Linked DNA regions of Homo sapiens: regions 1, 2, 4, 5, 6 and 7 are each linked to region 3. The links are contacts of gene promoters, found by promoter capture Hi-C in blood cells and fetal thymus (Javierre and others, 2016). All regions are on one chromosome and are shown on one strand. The core of a region is centred on a gene start or on the middle of the fragment in contact, and the rest is flanking DNA. Distances in the headings are between cores, read along the strand shown.

Region 1 (3,933 bases), core at 28-2,527, 1.8 Mb after region 3:
TTGCTCTCTCTCCTCCTCCAACACACTGGAGAAAGAAGGAAACTCAGAGACAGCCAGGTGAGAAGAGGAGGAGGATACAGAAAAGCAGAACAATGGCTCACACCTCCTTTATGCACTGCAGGGGAGGGATTAGAAACTGGAAGTGACACTGAAGGTTTAAATTGGATTGGACTTTTAAATGCTTGGAAGTGAATCATACTGACCCAAATGTGATTTATTTTTATAACCAAGTGACAAGAAAACTATAGAATTTGCAGGAAACGTCACTGAAGAGGGAAAGAAAAAATCATGTTTGAAGGCAGTGGAAGGAGAAAATAAAACCATTTCCTGTTTGTTCTCCCATCAAATTTAGCCCACTGAGTATGCCAGTTATGTAAAGATCAAATGAAAGTATACATGCAAAGAGCTTGGCATATTATCCAGCCTTTAACAAAAAGCCCATTAGAGCTCAATGTTGGCTATGGTCATTGACCTCACGGGTGGATCACCTGAGGTCAGGAGTTCGAGACCAGCCTGGCCAACATGGCGAAACCCCGTCTCTACTAAAAATACAAAAATTAGCACGGCGTGGTAGCGGGCGCCTGTAATCCCAGCTACCAGGAGGCTGAGACACAAAAATCGCTTGAACCCAGGAGGCGGAGGTTGCAGTGACTGGAGATAGCACCACTGCACTCTGGCCTGGGCTACAGAGCGAGACACAGTCTCAAATCAATCAATCGATCAATCAATCAATCACATGGAAACGGTGCAATGTCTTAGCTGACAATATCGGGCTGCTGGAGGTTTACACACACCTGCTTTCCTCCTTTTGTGTGTAAGCTGTGAGAAACACACCTCACAGACGAACTCCCAACCACCACCCAGCAGGGGCGCAGCCGGAAAGACCCAGCTAGCAAAGACCTCGCCTGACCCAGCACAGCGCCCCCTCCTGGGCGCGATCCTACGTCGCCCAGAAGTCGAGGGGAGGAACCGAGGGAACGCGCAAGAAAGGACGCAGCGTCAGCGCGGACGTTCTCACGCACGGCACACGGAAGCAAGCACGGCGTGAGTTCGTCCCTCTGCGCACGCCCCGGTTTCCTCGCGTCCGCGGCTGCTCACCCGAACTCCAGATGACCTCCAGGGAGTTGGAAACTGCCAGCTCCAACCGAGCCTTTCCTCTTCCCCAGGAGGACGCAACGCGGATGCTTGCAGCTGGTCACCACGACTCCGACTCCGACTCCTGGCCGCCGCCCGCGCGGCTGTGCGCTGGCCGTCATAGCGCGCGGGAGGACGCGCCTGGCAGCGGCAGGAAGTGACGCGCTCACTACCCCGTCCCGCGGCCGCAGCCAATCTCTCCCCGCGAGGGCGGAGGCGCCGAAATCAAAGCGAGAGCGCCTCGGCCTCTCCAGCTGTCCGCGGTGCGTAATGCGTCGCGGAGGGCTATCAGGTTGGGGAATGCCGTGTTTCCTTCCGAAGGGCAGCGTGCCTTAGAGTTTCGCTGTAACTAAAGTCGCTTACAGTTGTGCTTTGAATATTCATCACCCGTCAGCCTATCCACTCCCAGATTCCTGCAAACCATGCATTTACATGTACAAGCCGCCTGCTCTTACCAACCTCGGCACCACTGCACATTCTTTTTTCCGTGAATGACCTCGCCCACCATGGTGCACCCATTTGCCCTGTAGCTCAAATCAGCGTGGTACCAGGATAAGGATAGGTCGTTTAGAAACATCCCATTATAAACAACTATGCTTAAGGTATATTCATAAGTCATGGGAGGAAATAAAGGCTAATTGATAAATCATGCTGGGAAGAGTTAGTTACAAACAGTGGAAAACAGACATTTTCAGATGTTTGCACACCATGCACCATGCAAAATACAAACCAGCTGAATCATAAAAACAAATGACTAGTTACTGGGAGGGTTTTCTCTCTTTCTCATTATTTTTACTTCTACCAAAGTAATGTGCACATACTGGTAATTTTATTTTATTTTAATTTTCACCAAGCTAGCTAATTTTCTTTCTTTTTTTTTTTTTTGTGGAGGTGGGCTGTCGGTCTTTTGTCGAGGCTGATCTCCAACTCCTGTCCTCAAGCAGTCCTTCCACTTGGGCCTACCAGAGTGCTGGGATAACAGGCGTGAACCACTGCGCCTGACCTATAGCTATAATTTTAAGAAGTAAAATGGTGCAAAAACCGCAACAAGAGCAACCTGACCCTCCTACTTTCAGAAACAATCACTTTTAACTCTTTGAACTGTATTTCTGATATTTGCCTACTTATTTCTAAGTAATATGCTTACTCTCCATGTTATACTAAATGGGTATTAAGCTTTTCACAGCATCTCTCCTCACTATCAACATTCACATTCATTACAAAGGTACTTACAATATCTTCTCAAAAAATGGTAGTATATAAAAAGGATAATATATTGAACAATGAGATTAATCCCAGAAATACTAGGTTGGCTTAATATTTGAAAAGCCAATGTAATTCAGCATATTAACAGAGGGAGAAAGGAAATACATATAATCATCTCAATAGATGCAGAAAAAAATTAATAAAATCCGATACTCAGTTGTGATTAAAAAAACTCCACAAAATCTCTGAGCAAACTAGAAATAAAATGAAACTTTAACATGATATATGGCATCTACAAAGACCTACAGCTAACATCATATTTAATGACTGTTTTGAGCTGAATTGTGTCCCCTCAAAATTCCTATGTCGAAGTCCTATCCCCCAGTACCTCAGCATTTGGAGACAGGATCAAGTTAAAATGAAGCCACTAGGGTAGGCCCTATTCTAATGTTATGACTGGTGTCCTCGCAAGAAGTAGAGATTAGAACCCAGACTGTGTTCTATTGGAAGACTGTATGATGACACAGGGAGAAGGCAGCCGTCTACAAGCCAAGGAGAGCAGCCTCAGAAGAAACCAAGTCTGCTGACACCTTGATCTTAGAATTCTAGCCTCCAGTATTGTGAGAAAATTAATTTATGTTATTTAAGCCACACAATCTTTGATACTTTGTTATGGCTTGATACTTTGTTATGGCAGCCATAGCACTAGCCTAGCCTTATCTTGGTGAAAGACAAGATTTGGGAGGAGCTAGGGTATCCACTCTGAGCACGTTTAGTCATCATGTTGCTGGAGATTCTAGTTAGCACAACTCATAAAATTTAAAAATCAATAAAACGTAGTTAAATTGGAAAGGAATAAGTAACCGTCTTTTTTTTTTAAAACAATCCTGAGGAATTAATTAAAAAGCCATTAGAAGAAATAAGTTTAGCAAGGTCGTAGGATTCAAGGTTAATATACACAATTGATTATATTTCTATATATTAGCAATGAACAATTGAAAAGTAAATTTTTAAAACAATACCATTTATAATACCATAAAAAACATAAAATACTTAGAAATATATTTAGCAAAAGATATGGAACACTTGTATACAGAAGACTATAAAACTGAACCAAAAATAAAATTCTAAGCACCTCCACCCCCAGCCATCTGAATGGACTCCTTCCTCTTGGCCAGAGCACTCCAAAGTTAACCTGAAAAACTGGTTGAAGCCATGACAGAGCAGGGGTCAGATATGCCTCATTATGCCACCTTTCTTTTGGAATTCAGGAAAAGCCAACTAGCATTTAACATTAACACAGACCTTAAGTCTGATAAGAAACATTTACAATCTAGTCTCTCTGAAGCCTGCTACCTGGAGGCTTCAGCTGCATGATAAAATTTTGGTCTCCACAACGTCTTATCTTAACCCAGACATTCCTTTCTATTGATAATAACTGTTTCAACCAATTGCCAATCAGAAAAATTTAAATCTACCTATAACCTGGAACCCCTGCCCCACTTCAAGTTGTCTCGCCTTTCTGGACCAAACCAATGGTCAATCTGTATCTTAAGTGTATTTGATTGAAGTCTCATGTCTCCCTAAAATGTA
Region 2 (3,747 bases), core at 814-3,313, 1.7 Mb before region 3:
TGCTTCTACTTAGCAACGCAATTGAAAAATAAATCTCCAATTTATAGGGGAAAAAAAACCTCCATAGATTGGAATAAAGGCCCTCTACTGTCTAGATCTCACCTGTGTTTCTAGATCTTGTACTATTCTACATGCACCTGTTGCTCCAACCTAGCTGAACTTCACTGTTCCTCAGGAAGCCCTCAGCAATGCTGTCTTAACTTCCTTTCTTCACATTTTCAATGTCGGGAAGATCTTTTCACTAGCAGCTTCCCCTTCCTTTACCCATATCCAAATCCTACCAGTCCTTTAAGACAGTGTTTCTTAAAACTGAATAATGAACAGACTCCTAAAATAAATTCTTATGATCCTAGAGAATGTTTTCAGTAGGCTGGGGTCCACAGACCAGTTTGAAAAGCACAAATATAAAGAACTAAAGAGCAATTGTATAAAATTATGCAAATGATCAAGTTGAAAGACAAATTTCATCTTTATAACTGGTAAAATAACTCGTATTTTGCCATAGAACTCTGATTCTTATCTTCAGATCTATGATCCGTTTAAGAAACACTAAGGCAAAGCTGAAACCTTGGAAAATGTTCCTGCATCACCCCAAGGTAATACATTTTTATTTTTTCTGATTTGGTGTCTAACAACTTTCTGCCTTGGAGTAGCTAGTAATATGTAGCATTTTCCTAGAAAACATAAGCTCTTTGAAGACAGGGACCACATTTTATTTATTTTTTATATGCACCACACCTAATACACAGTACATCCTCAGCAAGTACTGGCTGTAAAGCCTATATTCCATGCTCTTATTTTGTAGTCCAAATCACTTTAAAAATCACACTTCTTCTATTGTTCATACTCATAGAAGAGCATATTACTCAAATAGCTCTGCTATAAATTAACAGTAAGTTTCAGAAGTTATACCAAGTCACGAGACTCAGATTTTTAAAAAGTGCCACAAAGTGTCTCTTCTGTGTCAATGTTAATAGAACCCTTTCTTTAAATGATCAGTAGGCAAATTAAGAATTTCCGGATAAAGAACAAACTCTGGAAAAACAAAGCTAGTGGGAGAGGCCCTGTAAATACCTACCTAGTCTTACAAGGGCTGTCTCTAACTCAGCTTGTATTTTAGGCAGCGTCTTCAGTTTTTCAACTAATGTGTTTGAGAAAACTGTTTTCCTCGGACATGCAGGCGTGGACTCCTTACTTCAGGTAAGGTGACAGCAGCTTGACAGAGAGTGCCTTCCCTCCCACGGCATTTGGGACGAGGCTGAAGGAAAGACACAGGCGGGGTTACGGGAAACCCATTCTCTGCGCCATCTGGGCAAGCTGAAGTCAGTTTTTCCGCTTTCTCACGAGGTAATGGATTATCATGGGCTCAGGTCCCCTTCAGCTCTGAAACAGGTATTCTATGGCTCTAAGTAAACACGGCAAGAGACAGGTTATTTCTTTGGTAAGATCAGTTGTATTTCCCAGAGAATAAAACGGGCAACAAACCATTTATCGATATGTGAGTCTTCCCCCTAGGCCCTAGCTATTTGGGGTTGGATAAAGAAAAAGAGGGTTTGCTTCCTTTTTGGCGGGTCCTCCAATGACAGGGCTCCTGGCCCGCTGCGGGTCCAACTCCCACCTCTCGTGGCTCCCCCGAGGCCGAGCGAGGCTCCGTGCGAGGACAGCCCCTCAACCGCACTCCCCAGAGGGAGCGCTGGGACTCGCGGAGGAGATTAGTCCCCGGTCATAAACAACCTCTCACTTCCCCTCCCCCGCCCGCGCCCGCTCGCGCCGGGGCGGCGCGCCGGGGCGGCCCTCCGAGGCCCAGGAACCTCCTCCGGCGCCCGCGAGGCCCCGAGTCCTCCTCCGGAGGGCGGCTGCGGGCCTGCCCTCTTCTCCTAACCAGGTGTTTGTCCACTTTACTCAACCCTTCTTACTCGTCCACGCTACGGCCACCTCACAGGGGCGGCTGACGCCAGCCCCTTTTTCCCTCCCCTCGACCCCTATCACCTCCAACAGCCAAGGAGAGGCCGGCGGCCCTGACGCGCAGGCTCACCGCCGCGGCCGCCCCGCGCGCGCGGACGCGGCCCCCGCCCCCACCTCGCGGTCCTTCCGCAGTCCGGCCCCGCCCCTTCCCGAAGCCCGCCTCCGGGTCGGCCCGCCCGCCCGCTCGCGCGCACCCGACGCCCCGCCTCTGCGCGTGCTCAATAACTGTCCCCGGAGCCGGCCTACAAGCTTCCCCCGCCCCTGAGCTGTTTAAATATGCTAATGAAAGGATAGGGCCTGACCAGTAGAACGGCGAGGCGGTGTATCACGTGGCTCGGGGACGTGTCAGGGGCGGAGCCTCCGCAGCCCCTGCCCGAGTTAAAACCGGAGTGTGAGAGAGAAAAGCGCTTCAGTAGCGAGAGGGGCTGAGAAAGTGGTGACACCGCCGGGGTGCGGAGGGAGTCCCTGAAACTTCTCCCAACAGCCCCAGGGCCAATCTTCCCTCAGCCCACTCCCCTCTTCGCCAGCTCCCAGGTCCCCACTCCTGTACCGGGGGTGGGGTGGGGAGCCAGGCCCGTCTCCCGCTGGGACACACACAGGGGCCGGGAGCGGGGACGGGACCCCCGAGGCGGGGGGGACGAACCGACAGACAGACGGCTGGGCGCCCGCCCCAGCGGGCAGGCAGGCAGGAGGAGGCGGAGGCGGGGGTACGACGGGGAGCACTGGGTCTGGGGAGTTTCCTCTCAACTATCGGGGGAGAAACTCCCCGCAGCCGGAGGAAAGACCCAGACAGTGTTTTCCTCCCGGGGGCCGTGCTCCCCCGCCCCGCGTAGCGGCGGTCGCCGCCACCGGCGCCTCCACCTCTACCATCTCCTCTTTCTCCACCACCTCGGGCCCCGGTGTCCCCGGCCAGCACTATGCCCATCTTACTGTTCCTGATAGACACGTCTGCCTCTATGAACCAGCGCAGCCATCTGGGCACCACCTACCTGGACACGGCCAAAGGCGCGGTAGAGACCTTCATGAAGGTACCGACTGACCGAGCCCGGGCGGCGACCCCGGCCCGGCGGCCCGCGGGCGGCAGGGTGGGGGAGGGCGGCCGGGGCGGGGGTGTCGGGGACCTGACTGCGGGAGCTGCCGGGCTCGGGGACCCCCTCCCCCACCGCGCGGGCGGGCGGGCGCTGCGAGCCGGGTTCGGCCGGGGCCCGGGCTCCGGCCCCGGGCGGTGTGTGGGGAGCGATCTGTGTGTGGGGGACGGCGTGGAGGGGTGGCCGCTGCGTGTGCGGTACTGTGGGGGCGGCGGGGCCGCTGGGCGCCCCTTCTCCGCCTCGTAACCTCGCCTCTGTGCTTCCCTGTCGCCCGCCCTGTTCCTCCTCCCGTCCCGCAGCTCCGTGCCCGGGACCCTGCCAGCAGAGGAGACAGGTATATGCTGGTCACTTTCGAAGAGCCGCCCTATGCTATCAAGGTAACAGCCCTCGCCCTCCCCCTTTCCTCCCTTCCCTTCCCTGTTCCTTCCTCGCTCGCCCTCCCCGCCCCCCCATTCACCCTTCATTATGCTCCCCTCCCCCACCCGCTGCGCTCCCAGCCGCTGAGGTCTCTTCCCTGCGGGCTCCCACCCCCTCCCCCGCTCGGCAGCGTCCTAGCGCGGCGCGGAGTCGCGGGGCCACCGCCGTCCCCTCCCGGCCCGGCCCGGCAGCGGCGGCGGCGGCGGCGGCGGCGGCGCTGCTATCAACATGGCCGACATTTCCCCTCCGCGGCGTGAGCGGCAGCAATGAACTGTGG
Region 3 (3,653 bases), core at 791-3,290:
TGTGTTTATCAATAGGCCACACCCCACCACTCACAAGACGAATGCCCCTGGACATAGCTTGGCCACCAAAGGCTTCTGAATTCCTGACTTCTGGGCCTCAGGTTCTTTAAGGCCCTTTCGCTTTTTTTTTTTTTTTTTTTTCTGTATCTCCTCATATATTTATTCTTTTTCTGTGATCAGTGTCCTTTGCATGTTTTTGTTGGGTTGTTTGAATTTTTTATTTTTATTTTTTGGGGATGGAGTCTCACTCTGTCGCCTAGGCTGGAGTGCAGTGACACGATCTCAGCTCACTGCAACCTCCGCCTCCCAGGTTCAAGCAATTCTCCTGCCTCAGGCTCCCAAGTAGCTGAGATTACAGGTATGCGCCATATGCCCGTCTAATTTTTGTATTTTTTTTAGTAGAGGTGGGGTTTCACCATGTTGGCCAGGCTGGTCTCGACCTCCTGACCTTGTGATCCACCCACCTCGACCTCCCAAAGTGCTGGGATTACAGGCATGAGCCACCGCGCCCAGCCAAGGCCCTTTCGCTTTAAAGATTGTCCTTTTTGATCTCTTCATGGTATAGTCCTACCAACTTTTGACCTCAGTTCAATTATAAGTACTACAACATTACATACCTGCTCATGTCTACCATAGATTCTGAAAATTAACATACAAGCAAATGAAGCCCACCTGCTCCAGAAAGTAGCTTTTTGTTTTTGTTGTTGTTGTTTTTGTTGTTTTGTTTGAGACAGAGTCTCCCTCTGTCGCCAGGCTGGAGTGCAGTGGCGCCATCTCGGCTCGCTGCAACCTCCGCCTACCGGGTTCAAGCGATTCTCCTGCCTCAGCCTCCAGGCATGCGCCACCACGCCCAGCTAATTTTTGTATATTTAGTAAAGAAGGGGTTTCACCATGCGGGCCATGGTTGGCCAGACTGGTCTCGGTCTCTTGACCTTGTGATCTGCCCTCCTCGGCCTCCCAAAGTGCTGGGATTACAGGCGTGAGCCACCACACCCGGCCGAAAGCAGCTCTTTATCAGTGTAATCCATCCAAATTTCCCTCTTTCATTCTTTCGATGCCCCCAGAGGGAGTGGGAGTGCTACACAGGAGAGTCTGCGGACCAGGGCTGGGCTGCTGCCTGAAGGCTAAGATTCTGTGTGGTGGTAGAACAAGAAGTGTTGGGGGGCATGTAAATACAGGGACTGCCAGAGTGAAGGTTGCAGAACCGGGCTTGGAAGGATGATGAAGAAACTGGGCGACACTAAAGCGCCAGTTCAACAAGTATTGCGTATCTACGACGTGGTAGGCATTGTTTTGACACTAGAGATTCAGCAGTAATTCAACCAAAGTACCTGCTCTCATTGAGCTGAATTTCCGCGCGGGCACCTAGGTAACGCATATAAACACTCGTATCACATACATACACATGTACATGTCAGGTAGAAATGCTATTTATAAAACTGAAGCAGAGCATGGGAAGAGCGAATGAAGGTGGCTATTTGAGAAGACCCCCAAAAAAGCGAGACTGCAAAGCACTCGCGGTTGTTCCTTTTCTGATCTTCTAGCTACAGGCAGCGAGGTGCGCTCCCAGGAAGGCCCGCCCTCTTCCTCCTGATAGGGCGCAAGGTGCCAGGGACGCTCCCCCGCTCTTCCCCGCCCAGAGGCGGCCTTGTGGGGGCGGAGCTTTGTGCCCAGCAACATGAGCGCGGCGCGCAAAGAGCCGCGCGCGGAAGGGTCCCGGCATTCTCCTCGTTCTCACTAGGCGTGGAGAATTACTCCAGGCGGATCGTGGCATGATGGGAACTGTAGTTGACGACCGCCGCCCCGCGCCTGAGGGGCAGTAAAAGTCGCCAGGTCCGGCTCCATTTCTGGCACAAAACTTGCAGCACCGAGGGGTTGTGGAGAGCCCTTGCAGGGGAAGAGGGCAGGGTCATCCCGAGAACCAACGGGCACGTATAGCCCGGCGAACGCCCAAGCCGGTCACCGCCCCCGGTCACGTGTCGCCAGCCTCCGCGGCCGCGCGCCGCTCTCAGCACCGTTCCCGCCCCACCCGGCCCGGCAGTCGGCCCGCGCCTCCCCCGGCGCTACTGCCACCTCGCGCTCGGAGGCGTCACAGAACGTGCTCTTCTCTCCCCTCCCCCCTCCCGCTCTCCCCCTCCTCCCCCTCCCGCTCCAAGATTCGCCGCCGCCGCCGCCGCAGCCGCAGGAGTAGCCGCCGCCGGAGCCGCGCGCAGCCATGGCCGAGAACCCCAGCTTGGAGAACCACCGCATCAAGAGCTTCAAGAACAAGGGCCGCGATGTGGAAGTGAGTGTGCTTCCGCGGTCTGGGCCCGCCTGGCCGCGCCGGCCCGGCGACGCGGGGAGGGGCGGGGGGCCGGCGCCGGGCTGGTTCTCGTCGGCTTGTGGTCGGCCGGAGTTGGCCGCCGCCTCCCGTCACCGCGGCCCCGGGCTGGGCGGAGCGGGCGGCGAGACGCCGGCCGGGCTGCAGTCACCCCCCGGAGCTGCCGGCGCGGCGACCGGGAAATGCCGGCGTTTTCGGCCCCGTCACGCGGGCGCGGCCTGGTGTCGGCGAGGAGGGGATGTGGAGCTGAGGCGGGGTCCGCGGGCCAGGGCCGCCCGGATGAACGGGGATGCTGCCGCCCGGGCCCTCCGACCGCACAGCCGAGGGGGCGGCCGCTGCTTGCGCCCGCCACCGGTGCAACCTTCCGTCCGGTGCAGCCCCCTCTGCGCCTCCCGCGCGGCTCACATGGAGCCTCGGCTCTGCCGGTCCGGGCTCCTACCTTCTGCGAGCCGGGCCCAGGCGGGCGGTGGCGGCCCGCAGAGGGGGGTGGGGACCAGCCGGGTAACTGACTTGTTTGAGGGTGATCGATGGGGGAGGGTAGGATGCGCCAGGACCATTTTCTTATATTCCAGTGCTCGTCTTTGGACTAGTCGTGCCGAGCTGTTGCAGCTCATACTCCTGCAACTGCTGGCATTTGGAGCGAGCTGAAGGTGGACAATAGTTTGCCATCTATTGTGTTCAGGCTTCGGAAAAGAGGTTGCTCCGACCTCCGCTCATAGGACTTGTTTTCTTAGCCTTTCTTGGAGTGGGGTGTGCATAGGGTGATAATTTCTTTGACACGTTTTACTAAAATAAATTGGATACACAGGTTCATAATTCTCTTACATACCTCTTGCTCCAAGCTAGTAGAATTTCCAAGTGGTTGCAAAACTAAACATTCATCGCGGTCACTCAGTTAGTTGCTACTCAGCATGTTGCCATTGTCTCATTAAGGTGACATTAGCAGGTACTATTTGCAAACTCGGCTTATTGAGGCAGCGCTAGAGGTCTCTCTGCAGCTACTGAAAACAGTAAGTATAATGCACAAACTTCACTGGGACCGTGACCTTTGGATTTGTTAGGGGGAAAATGGTTTTAAGGCCGCAGCCTTCTTTGCTAATACTAGGCGACATGATTTGCAGTTTTGTAATTTTTGATAAGCTAGTGTGATTAAGAGGTGTGTTTTATCCTGTCTTAAGGAAGGTTGTGGGGTAAATATACCATTCAGTGTTCTATTTTGTAGAGAAACAGACAAACTCAGGCCGTTTTTCAGAGCTACAAAATTAAATACTAGTAGGAAAGAACCTAGGGAGATATCCGTGGAATTCCCATTTAAATGAGTCAAATAAAGATC
Region 4 (3,519 bases), core at 34-2,533, 1.3 Mb before region 3:
ATAGGTGAGGTGGCTAACATCCCCTTGGCACTTTGTTTGCAGAACTTAGTCCAGGATTTTACTTCCAAGGATCAGCAATCCACTATGTAAGCTAATGTTTAAAGGAGTTACTATAAAGATTCAGAAGACTCTAACAGAACTCAATTGCAGGAAGTACAGATAAATCTCAGAGGAAACAGAAAGTCAGCAGGTCTGTTTCCAACTCTGCATCTCCCTTCACGTTTACTCTATTTTCCTGGTTATCTCTTCTCTCTGAAAGTCTTTTGATTTCTGTTCCTTTTTTTTTTTTCTGTCACCCAGGCTGGAGTGCAGTGGCATGTTCATAGGTCAGTGCAGCCTCAAATCCTGGGCTCAAGTGATCCTCCTGCCTCAGCCTCCTGAGTAGCTAGGATAAGAGGCACATGGCACTGTGCCTGGTTATCTTATTTTATTTTTTGGTGAGACAGGCTTTTGCTTTGTTGCCCAGGCTGGTCTCAAACTCCTGACTTTAAGTGATCCTCTTGCCTCAGCCTCTCAAAGTGCTGGGATTACAGGTATATGCCACCATGATTGGACTTAATTTCTGTTTCTTCCAAGCTTTTCTATATGCCCTTTGGATTCAAGAGATCACCATCATCAGACTGGCTCAGTTTCTCAGTGCCTCAATTGCAGATGCCTGAGAAAGAGGGTTTGATGGTCTTTGGTCTGGAGTCCATATGTATCCCATTCAGATGGACTTTGGAGGGTGGGGTCTCTAAGAAGAGGTAATGGGTAGAGCCATCAGGACTGACGTATATTCTCCATTGTATAAATAAATACATGAAAACGGAATGAATGATTGGATGATTCATGTGTGTATGAATGGAAGATGAATAAATGAATGAGAGGTGGATGGATGACTACCAAGCCCAACCAACCCATTTAGGAGAGAGGTGGGTGGGATTACATGGCTTCTCTCTATGTCATGGGTTCTTAACCAAAGGTTCATGGATAGGCTTGAGAAGGTCTGAGAACCCTCCGAAGTCATCTATTAAAATGTCGTGTACATGTGACTATATGTATTTTCTGGGGAGAGGGTTCATAGTTTTCATCAGAATCTCTAAGAACTCTACAATCTAAAAAAAATCAAGGAACCCTGATTATGAATCCTTGGGATTTTTGTTCTTGCTAAATAGGAAATGCTGGCCGGGCACAGTGGCTCGCGCCTGTAATCCCAGCACTTTGGGAGGCCGAGGCGGGCAGATCATGAGGACAGGAGTTCGAGACTGGCCGGGCCAACATAGTGAAACCCCCGTCTCTACTAAAAATATAAAAAAATTAGCCAGGTGTGGTCCAGCACCTGTAACACCAGCTACTTGGGTGGCTGAGGCCAGAGAATCGCTTGAACCTGGGAGGCGGAGGTTGCAGTGAGCCGAGATCGCTCCATTGCACTCCAGCCTGGGTGACAGTGTGAGACTCCATCTCAAAAAAAAAAAAAAAAAAAAGGCTGTTAACATTGTGACATCCTGAGAAGCATTCCTTCGAGCCCAGTATATCGCAAAGCTAATTGAGCCAGAAAAAGTCAGAATTCATTCATTCCCTTTTCTGCTATCCCTCGTCCATCCAATTGACTCACCAAATTTCTCACCCTCTCTTCAAGACTGAAAACCCCTGGCCCTCCATGTTATCTACTTTTCCCATAAATAAAGTCTAGTTTAAAAGTAGCTGAAAGCAGAGAGTTTTTATTTTTAACTTTGATCCAAAAATGTTGCTTGTCTCCCCACTTCTGTCCCTTTCCTGGCCACAAACATTTTTGCTGGTTCATCTAGCTGCCTGAAACCACAGCCCCTCAGAGCCAGAAGGGCCCTTAGAAATCAATCTGGTCAGAGCATTTCACCTGGAGGACTCAGCCTCCAAAAGATCATATGAGAATATCTGTGGGAAATTCTAAAAATATAGTGAATATTATAATATTAAATATACAAAGCAGAAGTATTTTTTTCTAACAAAAGCTGTCAAAGGTAAAGCTTGAGAAATACTTTTGTTTAGTATGACTATATGGAAGATAAATTTTCTTCTTCCTTTTTTTTTTTTTTGAGATGGAGTCTCGCTCTGTTGCCCAGGCTGAAATGAAGTGACGCGATCTTGGCTCACTGCAACCTCTGCCTCCCAGGGTTCAAGCTATTCTCTTGCCTCAGCCTCCTGAGTAGCTGGGATTACAGGCATACTCCACCACACCTGGCTAATTTTCTTACTTTTAGTGGAGACAAGTTTTCACCATGTTGGCCAGGCTGGTCTCGAACCCCTGACCTCAAGTGATCTGCCCACCTTGGCCTCCCAAAGTGCTGGGATTACTGGCATGAGCCACTGCGCAGGGCCTGGAAGATAAACTTAGTAGGAGTAGAAACAGATATCACGAGGCCTGAAGCTTATATAATTTGGGAAGCCTCCTTTAAAAAGAATATAATTACCAATAAAAATTTAGCTACAAAAATAAGTACTCTTCTTAGAATTAAGGAAGAAAACTTTAAAGCTGACAGATAACATAAACATCAAAAGCTGGAAACATGTTTTTATTGTTAGTATCATAAATTAACTAACCCTCTTTTATAATACTTTCCTGCATCTTTGGCTGTATTTTGCTTTTTCTGTTCATTGGACAATGATTTTATAATGTCATTTTCTATAAAGAGGATAGAATGAATATTCTAGCATGGCTGGCTGAAAATTGTATTTATTGTATTTTGTTTTCATTGTTAGCTTAGACAAATTTCTTTATGCACATCCATAACTTTCTCAGCAGTTTCTTGCTGAAGTGTGCTTCTTTCATGTTGGCAAGTCCTGGGAAAACTCCAGCGTTTGATCTCCCTCGACCTGTTCCACCCATCTCCCCTACTTTTACGCAAGTCCTCTTGGACCAGGCGGTCCCCACTGGGAATGCGCAGCCTCTCTTTCAGATGCCTTTTTGGGGGTTAGAGTAGAGTCTGGATGTGTGTTGAGTCTACCAGAAGCAAGTGGTCCTGAGGACTGGGTGGTCTGCAGCCCCACCCACAGGCATCCAGGACCACTACCAGGGCATATAAGGTGACCCCTCAGGCTGGGGATGGCTTCAAGCTAGAGGGGGCCAGGTGAGGCTGCTTCCTCCCTGTCCTGGAAACCTCAGCTTCATTAGCTTCCAAAGCAAACCTGAAGCACTCTTGATTTAAATCAGAAGTTCTTAAACACTTTGGTATTCAGAAGCCTTTATACTCTCATAAATTATTGAAGACCCCACAGAGCTTTTGTTTAATCTATGGGTATTTATGGTATTAGAAATTAAAACAAATTAAAAAAACATTTTTAAATTTATCTAAAATAATTATATGTTATATAATTATGCTGTAATACATAATAGTACATGTTAGTGTAACATTTTTATGATAACTATATTATTCAAATAAATTAATGACAAGATGGCATTACTTTACAGTTCTGGAAATCTCTTTTAATATCTGACTTAATGGAAGTAATGGAAGTGGGATTCCATCTTCCGCAATGTATGTATTCTGTGATATGATTTTG
Region 5 (4,127 bases), core at 893-3,392, 1.1 Mb before region 3:
CCTGGGAGGATGTGAACCTGCTAAGGAACTCCCAAAGAAGTTCATGTTTGATTTTGTAACACACAACCCAGGTGCACTGACCCCACATTAAAAAATGGCAATTTCCATACTAAGGCAGACTCACAGGCTATTCAAACCAGTATCCGGTTTCAGGAAAGCACACCAAGGGATGTTTGCAGGAGGCTATGGTTGTCCTCAAAAATGTAACCTGCTTTGAATGGCTTTTGAAACATCCTAGTTTGCCATTGGGTCCAATACAGCTCTGTAAATGTATCTTTACCTCTTTTGCACCTATTTGTATTTTCAATCTTTATCCACTTTCAAAGATAACCCATTCCAAATATGTACTGTCTACTGTCTGAAGCAATAAGTATTACACCTCTTCAATGTTCAAAGCCTAAAATACAAATTCTCTTTGTCAACTTGTTTCATATCACTGTGTGAGTTTCTGTCCTTATCAAAATTAAGAGGAAAAAAACAGCCCCTACCTCTATTAAATCAACTGAACTTTCTCCAATTTTATGTAGAACAGCACCATATAAACTTTTATGTAACCCCAATCTCCCTGAGTGTTTTAGTGTTACATTAAATAAGTAGTAAGGGTAAACAATGAAATAAAGGCAAAAATAGAAAAATAAGAAAAAAAAATTTAAGAAGATTGGAATTCATTTTGTAATGTAAACAACATGAAAAAACTGGAAAGAAATATCTCCAAAATTTTTATTTTGGGTGAGGATGATGGACAAATTATTTTATTCTTTATTTTTTTCCCCATATTACTAGAATTTCTATACTGGGTAAATATTATTATTCTAATTATTTAAAGTTATCAAAAAAAAAAACCACTGTGAGAAAAACGTGTAAATGTAGAGTTAACTGGTCAAAAGAAGGTTAAAAGGCAACAACAATAACAAAAAATCTTTAAAAACAATCAGGCAAAGGTAGCCAATCATGCAGGAGAGCCTTACCAAATGTTGAGACCTAGGCCCTCGGAGGAGTAAGCCAGCCTCCAGCTTAGCTGTTTCGGGGACAGATAATGAAACAGGGACTAGAACATGCAGCCCCAAATCCCTTACATCCCCTTGCCACGGGGTGGCCCATTCTGCTTTAGCAAACAGTCATCCTTAGACAAGGAAGTCATAAAGGTAGCTCTGAATAAAGGCCTGGAAATCCTACGTGACATGCTCTACTGTTTGGAGGTTGTGCTCTGAAGCAGAAGGCTGAGGTGCCCACACTGAGAAGCGAAATGGCCACTCAGGGAAAACACACTTGGACTCTCTCTAGCTCCTGGCATGTATTAGGTGTTCAATACATATTTATATAAAAATGGCACTTAAATGAATAATCATGATGAAATGTGTAGGTGGTCAAAGAGGTACCACGAACCTGGGCAGTAACAAGAGGAGAGACCCATGGGAAGGCTTCCTGGTAGAGGTGATACTTGAGCTGGGTTTAAAGGATAAGTAGGAATTTGCCAGGTAGATAAAGTGAAGAGCAGGCAGGATTCCAGGCAGACACAAAGTCAAGACGGAGAAGCTGAGCTGGAGCAAATGGCTTAGCTTTGTGGAAAATAAAGTTGAATGGAACCTTGAGGAAAGGGTAGAATTTGGATAGAAGTAGAAGGGGAGGAAAAAGCAGAATAAGCAAAGACATTGCAGGAAGAAATGGAATGTGAGACTTTTATTCGTTCAGTAAATATTTATTGAAATATCTACTCTGTCCCAGGCCCAGGGCTAAAAGCTTGAGGTGTAAGAAAGCTTATGAGTAACTCAAACCACAGATAACAACCCCATGAGACTGGTACTCTTCTCCCCACTGTGGAGATGACAAAAGTGAGGCTTTATAGTGAGGAAGTAAACCACCCAATGACACAGAGCTAATAAATAGCATAAATCTAGCTTTTAAGTCTGTGTTATTATAGCCAGGCTTTGGAGCACACTGACTGAGTTGTTTGTTTTTTAAAATCACAGTCTCAGAGGATGTGGGAGAATCCATGCAGTCCCTATTCTGTTACTCAAATAAAAAATCATGAACACTGCTTGCTTTCCTTTTATGAATTTTTTTCTGACCTGGAGGATAAATATGTGGGAGTCATGAGTTCTTACTTATAAATGTCCCAAGTATTTTGGAACAGTTACTAAAGGGACAAGATCAGACTCTGGAAACAGCCTGATTACACCAACTGGCAACTGAAGTCCATCCACTTCAGAACGTGCTCAGATAGATAGCAAGGGGAGCAGATCCAGTGGCCATCTGAGAAAGGTCAGTCGGGTCCCACCGAAAAACATTTTGCAAAAACAAAGCCAGACTGAGATTCATGTGGAAAATGTTAAACACGCTCTATGCTGGAAAACTCTGAGACTCCTACACTGCTGACTGCCTGCAGTAGACTATTCGGTAAATGACACATCTTCCAAAAAGCTGAGCTTAATTATTCCGAGGTTGTCTAAAATCAGCACTTGAATTGGCCAGGTTCTCTATCATGTGCCAAGTGAAGTTCATCTCTTCTGAAAATAAGGAAGCTTTCGGCCCTCACGTATATTTCTAAACACAAACATATACATACATACCGTTTTGACAAAGAACAAAAATCCTGCTTAACTTTTTCTTCTGAGATTAACCATGAGCCATTAGGTAAAGAAGGGAAAAGAGTGTTTTTTAGTGTCACTGAAAAGTCAGTTAAATCTATAGTAGTTCTTCCTTTGCCATACACTTTAAACCTTTACTTTTTTTCCTCCCCCAAAACAAGAGGCATTTCTTTGGACTTATAAAAAGCTACAATTATGCCAGTTGGTGGACCAAAAAAAAAAAAAAAAAATCTTCAAGACTGTAATCAGAAATAACATTAATATAAATTTTCTCCATCATTAAATAAGAAAATTAGTTTTTCCTTTTAAATTTATTTTTTAAATCCTTTAATTAGAACATAGTTCTAATGCATGAATTTATACAATCCTTCCACATCTATTTTTGCATTCCAATTGGAAAGATAGCTCTGGTATAATCATTTGTGATTATCACGATGCCTCACATAAAAAGCTGTTATTGTATTTGAAATGTCTAAGGTAGACAGGGATTCTTATCTCCCAAAAAGCAACCCATCCTCTACCTCCATGAAACTGCTTTCTGTGGAGAAATAAATAATAAGTGCAATCTTTCCTAAAATACTTTTTAACATGTATATTCATGAAATAAAGGGGGATAACTTTATTGCAAAACTTGTCTCTAACTGAAAATTCGAGTTGAGGTGCAGTTTCACCTCAGGACTGTTTAATCAGGGGGCTGATTAAGGAATATTTTAATCAGCCTAAGTGAACCCAAATGAGTTTTGTTTTAACAGGCCTGAAATGATTTTTCTTCTTTTTTTTTTTTTCAATACACAATGTTAGGGTTTCCCAATTAACATTTCCTTGGAGATGAACCCAATTAATTGTTCAGCCCCCAACAGCAATAAATGCAGTCTTCTAAACGCAATGAATCAGGTGACCTCTCACACCTGGGTACATCCCAACTTAGTAGCATTAACAAGAAAAATGGACTTAAGAAAAACATTAAAAATATGACTCAAACATTTACTTTTAGGGCAGAAAAAGAGGGATGGAAACTTATACTACTTTCCAAAAAGTAAAGTAATGGCCTCTTATAGAAATTAAAACTGCAAACAGGCTAGTATTCCCAGGCCATTTTACAGAAACATTTAAGACCATCCCAAACTAAAAGAAATGCTTGCCTTGCTGAAATGGGAAATGGTTCTGTCTTCACCAGCCTATGAAAACCAACGTCCCAAGTCTGCATATCTCACAGTATCTCTTCCAAGTTCCAGATTTGTTTATCTGAGATAGCCAGCTTCTCCAAACAAACTGAAAACTAGAGGCAAAGATACCTAAATCAAACATTTAAATATATCCTTCAAGATATAACACAGTGCTGTGGCAGGCAACTCGATGAACAGCATGAATTAAATGTTGGAAAAAAGTATCATTGCAAGGTTAGGCATCTTTACCCTTGTCTCACGGATAAATCCCTTTAAAGTTCTGTTGGCCTGTGGGTTCATGTGCTCACTTTTCAGTACACAAAGTAAGTTCTTCAGATCCCAAGTTTTCTAAAACCGAATACAAGCCGCCTCC
Region 6 (3,759 bases), core at 740-3,239, 1.2 Mb before region 3:
TATAGTGTATATATGTGTGTGTACATGTTGTACACACACACACATTTCCTAGCTTTGGCTCCTAAGCAATGACATACCAATAGCAATGAGCATACCTACTGCCTAGATCTTGGTTTCTAAATACCATTCTTCACTGAAAGGAACCAGGGTTCTTTGAAAAAAAGGTGGATTCAGGGCTTGCACAGGACAAGAGGCTGAAACTCCAGTCGCAGAAGCAGGAATGTATTAAAGAATGATAGAAACATACCCAAAAGATACACAAGTCAGCTTGAAGGGTCTCCCACTAGCTCTTCTGAAACAACATGAGCATTAAAATTAATAATAATAATGCAATATAGCCCACTGGATAAAATAAAAATCTATAAATCCATACTGTTAAGAATTCATAAATGAGGGAAGAAGCAAGGAAAAGGGAAAGTTCTTCCTTACAGAAGAATGCCAACTGATAAATATAGAAGAAATGAAAGTTAGAAAATCATCAGATCCTAAAAATAGTGGGCAAACATCCGATAAGAAATAGGATACTTACAAAGTCCCAGAATACTTACCCACAAATTACTTATTAATTATAAAAATAATCAACAATAATTCACAATGAAAACTGTAGGCAGCACCTTAATCAAGTGATCAAAGTCAACAACACTGATATTGGGATAGACTGTGATTCCTGCCATGGTGTACTGAGAAAGACATATTACTCCTGGAGGTGCCCTAAGAGTATGACTTGAATTTAATCAAAAAGAAATATTAGAATAAGAAATATTCCAGCAAATATTTACCCTGTACTCAAAAATGTCAAGTAAGACAAAGAACAGATGAGAAACTCTTGCAGATTAAAGAAAACTATAACAACAAAAAGGCTCCAGTGCTAGATAGTTTTACCTCTAAGATTCTTAAACATTTTCCAGCAATAGAATATAATAATGCAAAATGAATCCTTCCAGAACATTGGAAAAAATGGAAAGCTAGCCTAATTCTAACGCTAAAGCCTAACAGCAGCATTGCTTATGAATATGTCTGCAAAATTCCTTAATAAAAGTGTAGAAAGTCTAATTGAAAACTATATTTGACAAAGGTTAAGAAAGATAGGATGTATCCATTATGCTATTGATCCTTTATCTACTGCCAGGGTGAGTTTATTAGACATTTGGGTACAGTTTGATAGTAAGTAGTAAAAACTTTATAGACACCTCAATAGATGCCAAAAAGCTTTCTGATAACAACCAACACCAATTATTAATTTAAACCTTAAGGAAACTAAGTATAAAAGGATGGATAGTCTTTATCATATTAGCAACAGCTAGTGTCAGAATTAATGGTAAAGCACATCAATAAAATCACCAATTAGACAAAGACGGCTATTATTACTCTTTAATACTGTTCTGGATATTCTAGCCCATGTAATATAATGTAAAATATATAATAAAAGAGGTGTAACTATTAGAAAGAATTGCATGCAATTTTTAAAAACTAAATTACATACTATATTATGTACTAAAACCCAAAATAAATAAAATGGAAAATTTTTCCATTAATAGTTTAGTAAACTGGTTATTTAAAAGATAAATATATAAAAATATAAAACTTTACCACAAAATGACCAGTTGGTAGACCTAGCTGGAAAAAAACAGATTTCATTAATAGCAATGAAAATATCTACACATACTCATACAAAGATATGTCTAGAACCTATTGAAGATGAAGAACCGAACATTAGTGAAAGGTATTCTTAAGACTTGAGTAACTAAAAAGAAATACTATATTCCCAAATAAGAATATTTAAGTTTGTAAAGATGTTTGTTTTCCCAAAGTAAGTTATGCATCTAACAAAATCTCAGTAAAAATCCCATTGGAACTTACTCTTAGAACTTGACAAAATAATCCTACAGATTAAATGAAAAACTAAACTGGTGAGAAAATAATTAAATTACAGCTTTACCTCACAGCATATTTAAACATAATTACACATTCTCTAGATGATTTAAGTAATTAAATATAAAACAAAAATAGGCCAGGCGTGGTGGCTCACGCCTGTAATCCCAGCACTTTGGGAGGCCAAGGCGGATGGATCACCTGAGGTTGGGAGTTCAAGACTAGCCTGACCAACATGGAGAAACCCCGTCTCTACTAAAAATACAAAATTAGCTGGGCGTGGTGGCACATGCCTGTAATCTCAGCTACTCGGGAGGCTGAGGCAGGAGAATCACTTGAACCCTGAAGGCGGAGGTTGTGGTGAGCTGAGATCACGCCATTGTACTCCAGCCTGGGCAACAAGAGCGAAACTCCATCTAAAAAAAAAACAAAAAAGAACCAAAAACATAACTATTAAAAAAATCAGAAGAAAATAAAAGTGTCTGGTTAAATTTCCTGTAAAATGAAATATCTTTCTAAGTACAATATCTGTGTAAAGGAAAAGTTTATGTATATATGTCTACATAAAAACTAAAAACACCTGCATGTCAAAAATCATAGGCAAAATTAAAGGCAAAGTATAAACCAAGAAAGGAAATTTACAACAAACACAGTAGAAATAATTAATGTCCTTAAGTTATAGAATACTTTTAGTCAATAAGAAAAATATTGATACTCTAATAATTTAGCAAAGAATATAAAAGACAATTCTCTATAAGATGACAATTGATTAGTAAGTATGAAAAAATGTTCAAAATCACTACTAATCAGGGAAATATGAATTAAAACCACAATAAAATGTTTTTACACTTATTTCCAAAGGTAACAACCAATGCTAACAAGGTGGCATTAAGCTTTCACACCCACTGTTTGTTAGAGTGCAAGACCATTAAAATAAGCCTAGAGTGCAAAAGCTTATAAACTTTCCATGAAATATATTCCCATAAATATATATTTGAAAATCCAATAAGCCCACATCCAAAAATCCATTATAAGGAAACAATAAAATATGTGGACAAATATTTACTTATAATCTGATTCTTCAAATAGTGAACATTTGTGAATAATCCAAATGTCCAAACAGGATCATGGTTATTAAATAATCAAATATCCAAATAATCAAAAATTATACTGTCATTAAAAAACATATTTATGAAGAACAGTTAGTAGTCTGGGAAAATAGTAACAAAATAATGTTTATAAAAAGGTAACTACTGTGATTTTTCACAGAATTAGAAAATAACTATTCTAAAATTCATATGGAACCAAAAAAAAGCTTGGATAGCCAAAGCAATCCTAAGCAAAAAGAACAAAGCCAGAGGTATCACATTACCCAACTGCAAACTATACTACAAGGCTACAGTAATCAAGACAATATAGTACTGATACAAAAACAGACACATAGGCCAAAGAAAGAGAATAGAGAACCCAGAAATAAAGCCACACACCTATAGCTATCTGATCTCCAACAAAGTCAACAAAAATAAGCAATGGGGAAAGGACTCCCTGTTCAATAAATGATGCTGGGATAACTGACCAGCCATATGCAGAGGAATAAAACTGGACTCCTACCTATCACCATATACAAAAATTAACTAAAGATGGATTAAAGAATTAACTGTAAGACCTCAAGCTATAAAAATCCTAGAAGAAAACCTAGGAAATACCCTTCTCAACATCAGCCTTGGCAAACAATTTATGACTAAGTGCTCAAAAGCAATTGCAACAAAAATAAAAATTGACAAGTGGGGGCCTTATTAAACTAAAGAGCTTCTGCACAGCAAAATAAAGTATCAACAGAGTAAACAGACAACCTAGAGTGAGAGAAACTATGCAACTGACAAAAGA
Region 7 (3,838 bases), core at 377-2,876, 1.2 Mb before region 3:
TTTCTTAGATTTATTTCTGGTTATTTTAGCTTTTTTGATGTTCTTGAAAGTGTAAAAGGGTCTTTTCTTCCATGACATCTATCCGGCAGTTGCTTAAATGTATAAAAGCTTTTGATATTTATATATTGATTTTACATTAAGCTACCTTACTGAATTATAATTTTTATAATCTTTTTCAGATGATTCTCTTGGGTTATGCAAATATAAGATCTGCAAGTAATGATAATTTTACTTCTTTTCAATTTGTATATGTCTATTTTCTCTCTCTTATTTGTTTAAAACATTCTTATCATACTCCTGACTTTAATGGTAACACTACTGATATTTCTCCACTAAACATAATGTTGACTTTTATTTTGTATAAATTAGGGAAGTACACATCTATTCCTATTTCACTGAATTATTTTGAGATCAATAATGGCAGTTGAATTTTACTAGGTATCTTTTTTTTTTTTTTAATATAGGAAGGGGTTTAATTGACTCACAGTTCCACAGGGCTAGGGAGGCCTCAGGAAACTTACAATCATGATGGAAGGGGAAGCAAACACATCCTTCTTCACATGGCGACAAGAAGAAGTGCTACCAAGTATCTTTTAAGTATCTAAGGAGATTAATAATACCTTATTTCTTTCTTAGATAACTAATATGGTAAGACTTCTTAATATTGAACCATCTTTATATTATGAATAAACCCCAATTTGTCACATTGTATTATTCTTTTAATGAATTGTTTGAGTCTATTTGGTAATATTTTATTTAATATTTTTGCATTAATATTTACAAGTAAGCTTGTTTTTTTGAACTCTACAATCACCAGGTTTTAAAAAATCAGTATTTTGCTCACCTTTTTGTCCTGTTTAATAAATCTTTCCTGTACCCAAATCAATTTCATTTTGCTTGGTTTTCTTATTTTTAACCTCTGAGCTCTTGTGCTATTATTATTGTCTATCTTCCTTCAAACACATCTTTGTTTCTTTGATGGTTTACATTTTCCCCCATGCCTACCCTGTAGTGCGCCAGCTCAAACAACATCACTTGTCTTTCTGTGACTTCCATGATTCTTCCCTCTCTACTTTGTGCCCAAACTTCATAGAGGTAATTGTTTAAGTATTTTATGTTTGTAGTAAAATGCTTTTTACTATTTTTATCTGCTCTTTGGCAACACTTTATCTGCCATTTACTTTTTCTGGTCTTTTTTTTTCTTGTTTTATGTTTCATATCTTTGAAATAACTTGGGTTTGTTCTTTTTGGTTTCTCATCTTTGAGGCACAAGAGTTTTCCTTGGGCCAAATATTTACAGGGCCTCATCCCAGCCTAGTAGGAATTTTCTTTATAAACCAGGGTTTTGCATGCAAGTTTTAGTTCTATTTCTCCCTGATCAATAAAGACAGGTAGCTATGGGGATTTTTAAAAAGCAACGTCTCTCTTCTTTCCCTCTGCCACTGAGATAGATAGTTCCTGCAAATGTGATGTGGATGTGTGATTTTTTTTTTTTTAACTCCATCACCTCTTCATTTCACAACTAAATTGGGTCTTGGAGAGTTCTTGCTGTTCTGGTGTGTATACTGGTTCCTTCTGTCATAAACATGTGACTTAGACTTTATTCCTCACCTCTGCCCTCTCTGTTTACAAATGTATTTTTGCTGACTCAGTCTCATTTCCACAGCCATGAACTCTTCCTTCCTCTTTCTCCTGGAAGCTCCCCTGCTTTTTGCAGTCCTTCCATCTATTTGTTGTTCATAGTTTAAAATACCTCCTAGTTTTGCTGAAAATTGATTTTTTGGTTTCCATTTCTTATTTTCCTTTTGCTTTGGATGATTTCAAAGAAGAGATTGGGGGTGGGAGGTGGGGATAGAGGATGAACTTCCCACCTCCATCTTCAAATCAGAAACATTAGTATTTCAAAACTTTAGTGTGAGTAAAGGGTAAAAGGCAGCTATTTCTGAAAATCTTTTAAAGAAAAACAATATGGGATTCACTTTATAGAGCACATAGACATTGAAGCCTCAAGGTGGATTTAAAGCATTCGGGGTATTTTCTTAGCTTATCACTTGGGAAAGTCATCTAATCTTTCTAGGCCCCATTTTTCCAATGAAGGGGTTTGACAAGAAGATTCCTAGAGCCTGAAGACAGAACAGACTAGCCTTGAAGCCCAGTGTTCTCTCCTAGAGAAATATACAGAAGCATGCAAGCCTGTCCTGCCTGAGATTCATGGGCTGGTTACACTCCAGCCACCGCTGCCTCTGTCACCCTGCCTTCTACTCTAGCTCCATGGCAAATATTTAAAAACCAGACCTTTTCATAGGCATCATACTGATTTAGTCTCTAATCATGAATCCAACCAAAATATCTGGATCCTCTCTGCCATCAGTCCATGGTGACCAGATCTGGGCTGTGTTAGGGGTCATTGCATTCAGCCTGTACTCTGGAAATTACACTCCCAACATTCATTTACTAAAGCTTTAACAAAATTATTCAGACAAACTATCCATTTAAAAAGTAGACTGAGTAGTTATCTTTGAAGACCCAAGGAATCTTTACCCAAGATTAATAAGAAAAAACAAACTGAAAAAAAAACTGGTGATTTTGTTCACATTAAAAAAAAAATGCTGCATGTTAACCATCTGTCATGGTTTACTAATTAAATCACTGCAACTAATCTTGTATTAATATTTTTTTAAAGTTAAAAATGGGTTTCCTGAAAATGCTTAGAATTTCTGTGGAATTGCTTAGAAAGTCTTTTTACTTTTTGAACTTCCTTGGCCTTATAAAACTGTCAGCAGAGCAAAGTAAGGGCCAGTTTTCTGCAGCCATAACTCCCCCATCTCTTTTACAAGTCTTTATTCTTCGGAAATATAAAGGGTTGTGTTGAAAAGCATTAACTGGGGGCCGGGCGCGGTGGCTCACGCCTGTAATCCCAGCACTTTGGGAGGCCGAGGCGGGTGGATCATGAGGTCAGGAGATCGAGACCATCCTGGCTAACAAGGTGAAACCCCGTCTCTACTAAAAATACAAAAAATTAGCCGGGCGCGGTGGCGGGCGCCTGTAGTCCCAGCTACTCGGGAGGCTGAGGCAGGAGAATGGCGTGAACCCGGGAAGCGGAGCTTGCAGTGAGCCGAGATTGCGCCACTGCAGTCCGCAGTCCGACCTGGGCGACAGAGCGAGACTCCGTCTCAAAAAAAAAAAAAAAAAAAAAAAAGAAAAGCATTAACTGGGAAAATAAATGAGCAGCAAAATTATCAGTTTCCATTCAGTGATTAGTTGCCTCTGGTCTGCTTGTTAACAATGGAAAGCCTTTGAAGGCTGACGCCTTTCTTTGCACCTGGGTAAATGAAGTCACCTGACTTTGCCCTCACCTTGCCTGGGCCTGTCCAACCCTAGGGCCCCCAGATAGCTGCTGGCCCTCTAGGCTGTGTCCCCACTGGCCTGTTAGCCAGCCCTTATGGTTCTAAGAACAACTTATCTTGGAATTTCCACTGCCAGCTTTAGACTCTAGCACCAGGCAGAGAAAAAGTGAAATTATATCCCAAAGAGATTCTTCAAACCCAAAGAGCTAAGACTACTTCCTTGCTGAATTCTCACTGCTTCTGATTCTGAAGACAGGGAAGGTGTTGTCAATTCCTTTCTTTCCCTTGGGCCTTGCCTTGGGCTGCACCTGCCTGAATCCCATTCATTCCAGCTCAGTTCCACCTTCTCCATAAGAGCCTCCCATCTACACCTGGCAACCCTGTAGCTCCCTTTTTATGGCTCTTTATTCTGTTTGAGAACCTACATTTCCATCCCTTCAAAGCCAAACTCCTCTGTCTGACTTCAAGACATGAATAGCCTTACCTCACAC

The links. The method cuts DNA at HindIII sites, captures the fragments that hold promoters and counts their contacts. A CHiCAGO score of 5 or more calls a contact.
Region 1: a contact is called between the fragment with the promoter of NUDT15 here and the fragment with the promoter of KPNA3 in region 3, in 10 of 17 cell types (non-activated CD4 T cells, neutrophils, total CD8 T cells and 7 more). The highest score is 21.1, in non-activated CD4 T cells.
Region 2: a contact is called between the fragment with the promoter of INTS6-AS1 here and the fragment with the promoter of KPNA3 in region 3, in 4 of 17 cell types (monocytes, total B cells, activated CD4 T cells and 1 more). The highest score is 10.6, in monocytes.
Region 4: a contact is called between a fragment that was not itself captured here and the fragment with the promoter of KPNA3 in region 3, in 1 of 17 cell types (naive B cells). The highest score is 6.8, in naive B cells.
Region 5: a contact is called between a fragment that was not itself captured here and the fragment with the promoter of KPNA3 in region 3, in 10 of 17 cell types (naive CD8 T cells, naive B cells, total CD4 T cells and 7 more). The highest score is 9.3, in naive CD8 T cells.
Region 6: a contact is called between a fragment that was not itself captured here and the fragment with the promoter of KPNA3 in region 3, in 1 of 17 cell types (naive B cells). The highest score is 5.1, in naive B cells.
Region 7: a fragment that was not itself captured here is called in contact with the fragment with the promoter of KPNA3 in region 3 in 1 of 17 cell types (total B cells); the score reaches 5.8 in total B cells.

Annotation. Positions count from the first base shown.
Region 1 is chr13:48,035,070-48,039,002 of GRCh38, reverse strand. It overlaps NUDT15 (nudix hydrolase 15), which reads right to left and starts at 1,277. Exons shown (of 3, transcript NM_018283.4): 1 at 1,099-1,277. The coding sequence starts at 1,256. LOC124903172 (a long non-coding RNA gene) reads left to right here and starts at 1,011. Exons shown (of 2, transcript XR_007063788.1): 1 at 1,011-1,397. RefSeq lists enhancers at 781-940, 991-1,230, 397-1,272, 1,273-2,149. The HindIII fragment of the contact is 6,950 bases long and covers 1-2,312 here.
Region 2 is chr13:51,451,661-51,455,407 of GRCh38, reverse strand. INTS6-AS1 (INTS6 antisense RNA 1) reads right to left here and starts at 2,063. Exons shown (of 2, transcript NR_103812.1): 1 at 1,990-2,063; 2 at 692-1,405. It overlaps INTS6 (integrator complex subunit 6), which reads left to right and starts at 2,372. Exons shown (of 18, transcript NM_012141.3): 1 at 2,372-2,993; 2 at 3,353-3,430. The coding sequence starts at 2,883. RefSeq lists silencers at 1,607-1,926, 2,017-2,216, 2,447-2,706, 2,947-3,216, 3,227-3,346 and 2 more and an enhancer at 2,337-2,386. The HindIII fragment of the contact is 2,653 bases long and covers 1-2,216 here.
Region 3 is chr13:49,791,069-49,794,721 of GRCh38, reverse strand. KPNA3 (karyopherin subunit alpha 3) reads left to right here and starts at 2,040. Exons shown (of 17, transcript NM_002267.4): 1 at 2,040-2,284. The coding sequence starts at 2,216. RefSeq lists enhancers at 1,745-1,874, 1,678-2,339, 2,340-3,001, 3,006-3,525 and silencers at 1,945-2,194, 2,315-2,884. The HindIII fragment of the contact is 6,989 bases long and covers 1-3,653 here.
Region 4 is chr13:51,053,446-51,056,964 of GRCh38, reverse strand. It overlaps the pseudogene GUCY1B2. Among named protein-coding and RNA genes, the nearest start is that of C13orf42, 56 kb to the left of the region's middle. The HindIII fragment of the contact is 1,409 bases long and covers 579-1,987 here.
Region 5 is chr13:50,912,735-50,916,861 of GRCh38, reverse strand. All of the region lies in intron 1 of RNASEH2B (ribonuclease H2 subunit B), which reads right to left. Among named protein-coding and RNA genes, the nearest start is that of RNASEH2B-AS1, 4.1 kb to the right of the region's middle. RefSeq lists an enhancer at 1,870-1,959. The HindIII fragment of the contact is 765 bases long and covers 1,760-2,524 here.
Region 6 is chr13:50,958,003-50,961,761 of GRCh38, reverse strand. It overlaps a transcript of RNASEH2B not described here. Among named protein-coding and RNA genes, the nearest start is that of RNASEH2B-AS1, 49 kb to the right of the region's middle. The HindIII fragment of the contact is 1,556 bases long and covers 1,212-2,767 here.
Region 7 is chr13:50,977,177-50,981,014 of GRCh38, reverse strand. No RefSeq gene overlaps it. Among named protein-coding and RNA genes, the nearest start is that of RNASEH2B-AS1, 68 kb to the right of the region's middle. The HindIII fragment of the contact is 1,672 bases long and covers 791-2,462 here.